Regions from separate parts of the Homo sapiens genome. Here regions 1 and 3 are each linked to region 2. The links are contacts of gene promoters, found by promoter capture Hi-C in blood cells and fetal thymus (Javierre and others, 2016). All regions are on one chromosome and are shown on one strand. Each heading gives the region's core, a stretch centred on a gene start or on the middle of the fragment in contact. The rest is flanking DNA. Distances are from core to core; before and after follow the strand shown. Region 1 has its middle 150 kb from the start of CSNK1G3. Region 2 holds the start of PHAX (phosphorylated adaptor for RNA export). Region 3 overlaps CSNK1G3 (casein kinase 1 gamma 3).

Region 1 (2,890 bases), core at 159-2,658, 2.9 Mb before region 2:
TAGGGCAGATTTCTATGAAGAGTGGATGTTAAGCAGTAATATAAATGTAAGAGCTTACAGCAAAATGAAATTCATGCTATAAAGTTCAAACCTGCCTAAGAGAGACTTTTAGGTAAACTATTGGGTTGCAAAGCTGATTCCCATTTTGTTTTAATAGTTGGCAACGTATGGTGGCTGAGGTGATGTGTTTCAGTTGAGTAGATCATGGAGCATTATCCTGCGCTCAGTTGAGCAGAAATGTGTCTGATTTCAGCAGGACTATGAAAAATGGCTGAATTCTCTCTTCCTGAATCTGAAATTAATGACTAAAAATGTTATCAACAAGGTAGGTTGTCAAAAAAAAAGTGTAGGTACTTTATCTAGAAATGGTATATTGTTCCTTAGATAAACACTGAGAATTTTATGGGATAGTTTAGGAGAAGAAATTTATGTAACTTTCTATTTAGCTACAGTGTTAGCTAAAAACAACTTGATATAAGAATTAGAGATGATTATTCCCTTGTTTTTAATCTCCTCCTTGCTTCTCTGAATTTGAAGTATATCATCAAGTCTTGTTTGTAATTGAGAAGACTGGCTGGGGTCACAGAACTTGTAGGAGGGTCAGAAGATTCTTAATATCCTATCTGGATGGGTGTGTGAGCTATCAAAGGGGCCCTCATCCTTTGGGCATACTTACATAATTCCTACATTTTGTGTTAATTTTGTACTTAATTCATATCTTTATCAAAGATATATTGAACCCCAACTGTATACTAGCCACTTTTATAGAGAAGAGATAAATGAAGCATAGTTTTCTGGCTTCAAGGCTGTGTAGAGAGGGTGGGTGTGGTGAACAAGTGGATAAGTGTTATGACTCGGAGTGCTATGGGAATAGTGAGATTGTGAGGGAGCCCAGTCATACCACCCGACCTAATAACAGGGAGGAGAGGGGTTAGGGAAAAGCTTCTTGGAGGAGATGTGTTTTGAGGAAAGAAACTACTTAATCTCTGGACCTATTTCCTTTTCTGCAAAATATTGGGAAATTGCCACCTATCCTTCAGGGTTGTAGTGAGAATTATACCAGGTAGCATGTGTGAGAAAGCCTGGAACGTGTAGGCTCTCCATGTTTTCATTATGATCACTGTGGATGGCTTTATCATTTCTCTTTCTAGCCTGAAATGCATGAATTCCAAAATTTGAATGGGAAAATTAAACTAATATTAGACCAGTTTGACTCTTAGGCTACATAAAGAAGCACAATCTAAATTATCCACCACTCTGAATATGGAAAGAAAGAGATATGTATTAGTTTGTTGTTACTGCTGTTACAAGTTATCACAGAATTAGTGGCTTAAAATAACACATTTATTATCTCACATTTCTGGAGGTCAGAAGTCTGGAATCAGTGTTATTGGTCTTAAATCAGGGTGTGGTAAGTCTGGTTTGTTTTGGAGGCTTTGGAGAGAATCTGTTTCTTACTTTTTCTAGCTTCCAGAGACTGCCCATATTCCTTGGCTTATCACTCAATCACTCCAGTCTCTGCTTCCACAGTCGTCATATTAACTTCTCCTCCCTCTGGTGTCTTAACTTTCTTTTATAAGGATAATTGTGAATACATGAGCCCACCTGGATAATATAGGTCAATCCCATCTCAAGATCCTTAACTTAATCATACCTTCAAGGTCCCTTTTGTCAAATCAATTAATATTTATAGGTTCTGGGGATCAGAACATGAACACCTTTGGGGACATTATTTAGCCAACCACAAGATGTAAAGATCAGAGGAGAGTATCTCTGCGTGCAGTGCTACAGTATTCACTGCCTCTAATATGTTTGGGCTGTTGGAATGGCTCACAAAGAGAGATACCTATCAGAGCCCTTGGGCTACTGACATCTAAGCTTAGCAAGTCAATGGCAAGTCTTACTGGTTGGCCTTGAATTTAGAATTCTGTCCCATCCTCACATCAATTTCATCTGTTAATTGCTATTAGATAATATTTCTTAACTTCATTTAAATCTGTGTAACAGCCATGTTATGGGCAAAGTGTGAAGAGAATGACAGTAGACTAAAAACTCTGGGTAACAGTTGCATTTAATGCAGTGATGTTATTTGAGCACAATACATTTTTGCTGAGGGAGAGCTTGTGTTGACTATGATTGAGGCAGAGATGTATTTGTTTCATAACACTCAAGTGTAAGACACGTCATATTGCTTTATTTTTCTAAGTCAAATTAAATCTAAGCCTCTGTTCAAATAGGTTAGCAAGACAACCAATATCAGTCATGACTGGGAAGGCCCTCCCCCACCCTAGAGCTGAACAAATCCTTGAGAGTTTAATCAGGCCAGAAATCTGGACTAGGGGCTCTGGTTTTCTGTGAGCATAGTTGATCAGACCCTGCTCGTTGTTTCAGTCCAGTTGGAACATTTAAAAGTGGGTTGGTCAGTTGTTCAGAGCATCAGTTTTCCCTATAAACAACTAAGCCAGTGGAAATTCTTCTGTAGCAGCCAAGGCCATACCTCCTAGGATTCATTTTTATCTCAGTCAACCTCATCAGGACACCGTATTAGAGGGAGATTCTGGTCTCTTCTATATAAGAACCAGAACCATCCCCCACTAATTCCGAGATTTCCAGTTGTTTCCTAGCCCACCCGCAACCTCATCCCTTAGAACCAAATCCCATTTTCTCTTCAAGACCTTGCATTCTCTCACTTAAACTATGTGAGATGGTATGTGTGAGAAAGCCTGGCTCACAGAGGCACTCCAAGTTTTCATTGTGATCATTGCTGCTTTCCTCAGGATTTAAAAACAAAAGCTTCTCAACTGTCTTCTTAACAGTTCCTAACTGGGAGAGTGGCAGTCCTAAAATGTATGAATGCAAAGTCCAGCTGGCCTTTTTATTTTTATGTGAT
Region 2 (2,700 bases), core at 31-2,530:
CGAGTGAACAGCAAATGCAGAGGCCTGGCCTGAGGAACAACAGGTTCAGCGCGCCAGCGGTTAGGCAGGGGGACACACTAGGACCAGTGACCAGATGCCCAGTCCACATGACCTTGTTTGCCATGTGGCAAAGTAAAACAGAGGTTCCTCTTCAAAAACTTTCCTCCCCGTCTAATTAGGAATAAATAGTAACTTCTCTTAAAAGCAAAATTTATTCAAAGATCTGTGCTAACATTCTTAAATATCTGCTAGCCATAATAAAAAAAAATGTACTTTATGTTCTTAGCTCCCACAATTTAGCCTAAATATTTGCCCTGGCATGCTTTTACTAGTCCAAGCAAGCATTAGGTCATAGCCTGTTCCTCTTCCTTATTTAAAAGTGTTTTCATCTTTCTCAGCATTCCACAAGTTACTTCCTCCTTCCTTTGTTCTCCTCTACCTTTGCCTCTTTTAAAAAGTTCTAAGTTGCTAGCCAATCGGGACAAATACAAAATGTGAGGTCCGGTCCAGCCAATAAAAACCAGCCACAGCAGTAAGGTAAACACGTCAGGTTATAAATGACCCTGTCTCCTTTTGTTCAGTGTACTCTCCTGGCAAAACTGCTGGCGAGTGTACCCTTTCTGCAGAAAGTAAAAATGGCCTTATTCAGTAAGTTAAATTTATGTTGCTATTTCTTTACGACACCGGAAAACAAACATTTCAAACACCATGCTGAGAACTCAGTCCTTGTTTTGGGGAGGGATGCACTTGGAAGATTCGAGCTAAGGTACAATCCTCCCTAGGTATCCGCGGGTCATTGTTTTCAGGACCCCCACAGATACCAACATCCGCCATGCTCAAGCCCCTTACATTATGTGGGGGTGCACGGTGGGTCCTTCCCATCCGCAGGTTCGGCATCCGTGGATGGGGAGTGGATACAGAGGGCGGACTATACAGCTTGAAAGGCTTCCCTGGAAGCAATATGTAGAGTGGATTGTGGAGGAGCAAGAACAGAAGCGGGGAGGCTTGTCCAGAGCATACAGGGGAAGGATGTACGGCCAAGGGAGGAATCCCAGACGACCGCGATACGTGACATATTTATGTTTGCACGAAAATAAAGTTTGGAAGAAAAGTGTTGGGGGAACAAGGGATTCATTTTCCCGGGGTAGTTGGAATGCAATGGGACGCCTCAGGCCGCTGGGACAGGCTGGCCTCCGCGCGGGGGCGCCCGAGCAGCCGAGCCGCCGGGCCTTCCGGCTGCCCCGCCGGAAGTGCTCTCCTGACCCGCCGCTGTGCAGCGCAGCGCACCGCGGGAAGATGGCGTTGGAGGTCGGCGATATGGAAGATGGGCAGCTTTCCGACTCGGATTCCGACATGACGGTCGCACCCAGCGACAGGCCGCTGCAATTGCCAGTGAGTGTGAAAGGAGGGTGGGTGATCGTGGCTGGGCGCGCGGAGCCTGGGCCCCGGGGAGCGCGCAGGCAGCGGTGAGGGTGAGGGGTGGGAGCTAGGAGCCCGGGCCAGAGCGAGGAGCCCAGGCTGTCGGGTCAGTGGCCGCAGAAGGGGCGAGCAGACGTCCCCCAGGCGGGCTCACGGAGCCCGGGCTGCGGGGGCCGAGGGGCGAGGGGCGACGGCGGCAGCGGCAGCGGCTGGCCGTGCGAACCCCGAACTGGCTGCTCCCTGCGAGGCGGGGCGCGCGAGCCCTGGCGCCTCCTGGAGGCCGGCTTGCGGCGGCCTCTTAGACGTCTCACCTCCGCCTACCGCTCTTTCTTTTCTAAACTTGGGGCTTCCCCACTCCATCGCCGCTAGGTAACCATAAAGGGGCAGATTTTGCCAAATATGTAGCATCTAGGGACATCAGCCTGAAACAGCCTGTGATGCTCATTTTCTCCCTGAGCCGAAGGGAGACTGAGGCCCAGGAATGAAGTTTATCGCTCACTCAAAGATCTGGTTTTCCATGTTTCCACCGAACCTAGCTTTGTCATGCGGTACCATGGCACTAGGCTTTTGCATTAGCCTCTCTGATTTTGTTTGTTGTTTTGAGGTGGTCTCACGCTGTTGCCCAGGCTGGAGTGCAGTGGCGCGATCTCGGCTCACTGCAACCTCCGCCTCCCGGGTTCAAGCGATTCTCCTGCCTCAGCCTCCCGAGTAGCTGGGATTACATGCGCCCGCTGCCACGCCCGGTTAATTTTTGTATTTTTGGTAGACGCGGGGTTTCACCATGTTGCCCAGGCTGGTCTCGAACTCCTGACCTCAAGTGATCGGCCTGCCTCGGCCTCCAAAAGTGCTGAGATTACAGGTGTGAACCACGGCGCCCGGCCACATCCAGCTAATTTTGTATTTTTAGTTGAGACGAGATTTCTCCATGTTGGTCAGGCTGGTCTCGAACTCCCAACCTCAGGTGATCCGCCCGCCTCGGCCTCCCAAAGTGTTGGGATTACAGGCGTGAGCCACCTCGCCCGGCCTAATTTTTGTATTTTTAGTAGAGACGGGGGTTCTCCATGTTGGCCAGGCTGGTCTTGAACTTCCGACCTCAAGTGATCCACCCGCCTCGGCCTCCCAAAGTGCTGGGACTACAGGCGCGAGCCACCGCGCCCGGCCCAGCTTCCCTGCTTTCTAAACGGGAATTTGTCTTGACTGCCTTGGTAGGTAGCAACCTCTTTGAGAGGGCGTTGGTGCCAGGCTGCCTGTGTTCAGATCCTGGGGCCACCGATGTGTGAC
Region 3 (2,700 bases), core at 110-2,609, 3.0 Mb before region 2:
TTTTTTTGATGAATTAGGCACCCACATGAACACCACAAATCAGGACATTGTTTATCATTGTTGCTATGAATCCTATGAATGATCTTTTTTTTATTTTAAAGACCTACACTTAACCTACAAAACATTTGCTGTATAATTTGGTCAACAGTTTCTATCTATCTGTATACTGTCATGATGTCTTAAACTGCAGGAGTTACATACTGAGTTTATATTTTTATTTGCTTTGAGCAAGGTAGATAAACATTTTGGCCATTATAATGTGAAACCACTTCTTCTTTCTTTACAGTATTTGACCAAACTTGTGTGTCTATGATATTTGTAAATACATGCGAATATCTGTATTTCTTATCATAAGCCTATTTAGTTTTATTCTCAGTAGGGTTTTTTGGATTGTACAGTGTTTATATGATCTGAACTCCTTATACATAAGAAGGTGTGTATATTAATCCAATTATGGACTTAAAATATTTTAAAAGTATAAATACCCTTATTTGCTGCAAAGACCAGTGTGTAGGCATTTGCTTTTTAGCAATATTTTTAAGTGCTCCATTTTAATGCCGAGGAATAAGTCTTTTGGCAACACAAACTGGTCAATAATAGGTAATGCAGGTATGTTCAGGTTAAGCCAACAATGTTTTGCATTTTTATGCTTATTTTCTGTCAACACTAATGAAGTCAACATTGCCTGAATGTCTGAATAATGAAACACATCCCTGTTTAAAAGTATGTAACTGAAAAAGAAATAAAAAAAAATAAAAGTAGTTTTTTTAAACTTGCTCTTTCCCATTTCCTCTAAAGATGGGTAAAATAATGTCACTCCCTAATTTAAGATAGGAATTATAAAAATTTGGTTTATTTAGTCTGTTATATATGAGAAGCAGAGCTAAAGGAATATGCTTTTGTTATTTTATGTTTTGTTTTGCTTTCTTGAAATCCAGTGGTAAAAAGCACACACTAGGAAGGATCTAAGCTTTCTTTAATATAAAAAAAATTATACTTCTCTGAACTGTTTAATAGAGCAATAATTAAATACATCTTCTGATAAATTAAGGGAAATAGCATCATTTTTCCTTTTTGAGAATGGAATCATACTATTATGTTCACAGAAATTAAGCATTATTCCAGTTTTAAGTGAATGACTTTAAAATCATTGTAGATGGGGAGCCCATATTTCTAACAGTATCTCATAGTTCATCATTGTGCTAGGTGCTTTAAGGGATTTTACAAAATGGCATTAATGGTACGCTACTTACTGAGGGATGCTACAGGTAAGAAAAGGCAAAGCAGCCCTCTCTCACCCTGTGAATATTGTGTCCATTAAGCAGCAGAGACCTTCAGAAGCAGGAGAAAGATCTGGAGATGACACAAAACTGTTAAAGGCTCTATTTAGAAAAATTCGACTTTAAGATTGGGATTTCAGTCTGAATGAATGTATAGTTGCATTAGTCAGAACTCTTTGAATTGAAAGTGACAGAATTTAACCTGGCTTGAGCAATAAGAGTGTACATTATTTCATTTAACTGAAAAGTTCAGTGGTAGGACTGCCTTCAGACATGCTTAATCCTGGAGTTAAGACAGGAATCTTCTCCATATCTTTTGGTTTTGCTTTCCTACCCTGCTGTTTTCACTGTCAGGAAGACTTTCCATGTGTCATGGTAAAGTGGTCATCCAGCAGCTTGAGACTTCTACCCTACCATCTTAGTAGTCTCAGCAAAAACAAAGGGCCATTTTTCTCAATATTTCCAACAGAAGCTTAAGACTGACATTCCCTTATTGGTTGATGTGCCCACCCCTGAGCCAATTACTATGGACAAGGGAATATTGTTCTCCCAGTAGCTGAGCCTGAGTCATGGTTTGACCTTGAGGAGACACAATGGTGATGGAACTGGTTGAGAAGAGTTAAAAACTTTTTTTTCTACTAGAGTGCAAATAGAATTATAAAGATTTGCTGATATTCAGGATAACTAATTTCTTCTCTGCCCAATTCTAATACAGACCCACATAAATTATTTTCTTAGGACATTTACTTGTTCATAAGACTACATGGATCATAACCAAAGAAAGGACTATATATAGAAGAATGATCAGGTAATATTATTGGGATATAAAAATGGTTTTGTTAAACCAATTGTTTATTGGGATATTTATACTTTGATTTCACTTAAATGGTCAGACACTCTGGCACTTCTCCAGACTAGGGGTTGGAATCTTTTTTGGTAAAGTTTAGGCTTTGTGAGCCAAAAGGCAAAATTGAGGCTTTTATATATTTAATGAGAATGAAAAATTTTCACATATATTTTATTGATAAAATTCAAAATATATTAATACTTGAATTTTTTGTGTGATACAGGGCTACTAATGATAAGAATCGAGTGATTTTGAGGGGATATCTCACTAAATTGGGGTTCAAAATTAATTGCAAGCATTCATTTGTTAATGCTGGCCTGTAATGTGATTTTTTGTATTTCATCTTTGAAAACATCTTCTCACTCAAATAGATACATCCATGTACTGTTATCAGTTGTGATTGTGTAATTTTAATTGATCATATTCATCATTTGGAAGGTATTTATAGAATTCTATTAGATTCTGCTATTGCCATTTGCCTTTTAGCTGTCATTACATTGCATATTAATCACTTCCTGTTGAAGGTTAGGTGGATGCTCAATTGTATATTTAAGTGAATAATTAAATAGAAAA

What was found. Contacts are between HindIII fragments. The CHiCAGO score rates a contact against its expected background, and 5 or more counts as called.
Region 1: a fragment that was not itself captured here is called in contact with the fragment with the promoter of PHAX in region 2 in 2 of 17 cell types (total B cells and naive B cells); the score reaches 11.9 in total B cells.
Region 3: a fragment that was not itself captured here is called in contact with the fragment with the promoter of PHAX in region 2 in 1 of 17 cell types (total B cells); the score reaches 13.0 in total B cells.

Annotation. Positions count from the first base shown.
Region 1 is chr5:123,659,800-123,662,689 of GRCh38, forward strand. No RefSeq gene overlaps it. Among named protein-coding and RNA genes, the nearest start is that of CSNK1G3, 150 kb to the left of the region's middle. The HindIII fragment of the contact is 936 bases long and covers 941-1,876 here.
Region 2 is chr5:126,599,667-126,602,366 of GRCh38, forward strand. PHAX (phosphorylated adaptor for RNA export) reads left to right here and starts at 1,281. Exons shown (of 5, transcript NM_032177.4): 1 at 1,281-1,392. The coding sequence starts at 1,297. RefSeq lists enhancers at 363-1,212, 1,213-2,060, 2,061-2,700 and silencers at 1,119-1,328, 1,449-1,698. The HindIII fragment of the contact is 34,757 bases long and covers 1-2,700 here.
Region 3 is chr5:123,616,000-123,618,699 of GRCh38, forward strand. It overlaps CSNK1G3 (casein kinase 1 gamma 3), which reads left to right. Exons shown (of 14, transcript NM_001364140.2): 14 at 1-1,050. Among named protein-coding and RNA genes, the nearest start is that of CSNK1G3, 110 kb to the left of the region's middle. The HindIII fragment of the contact is 782 bases long and covers 969-1,750 here.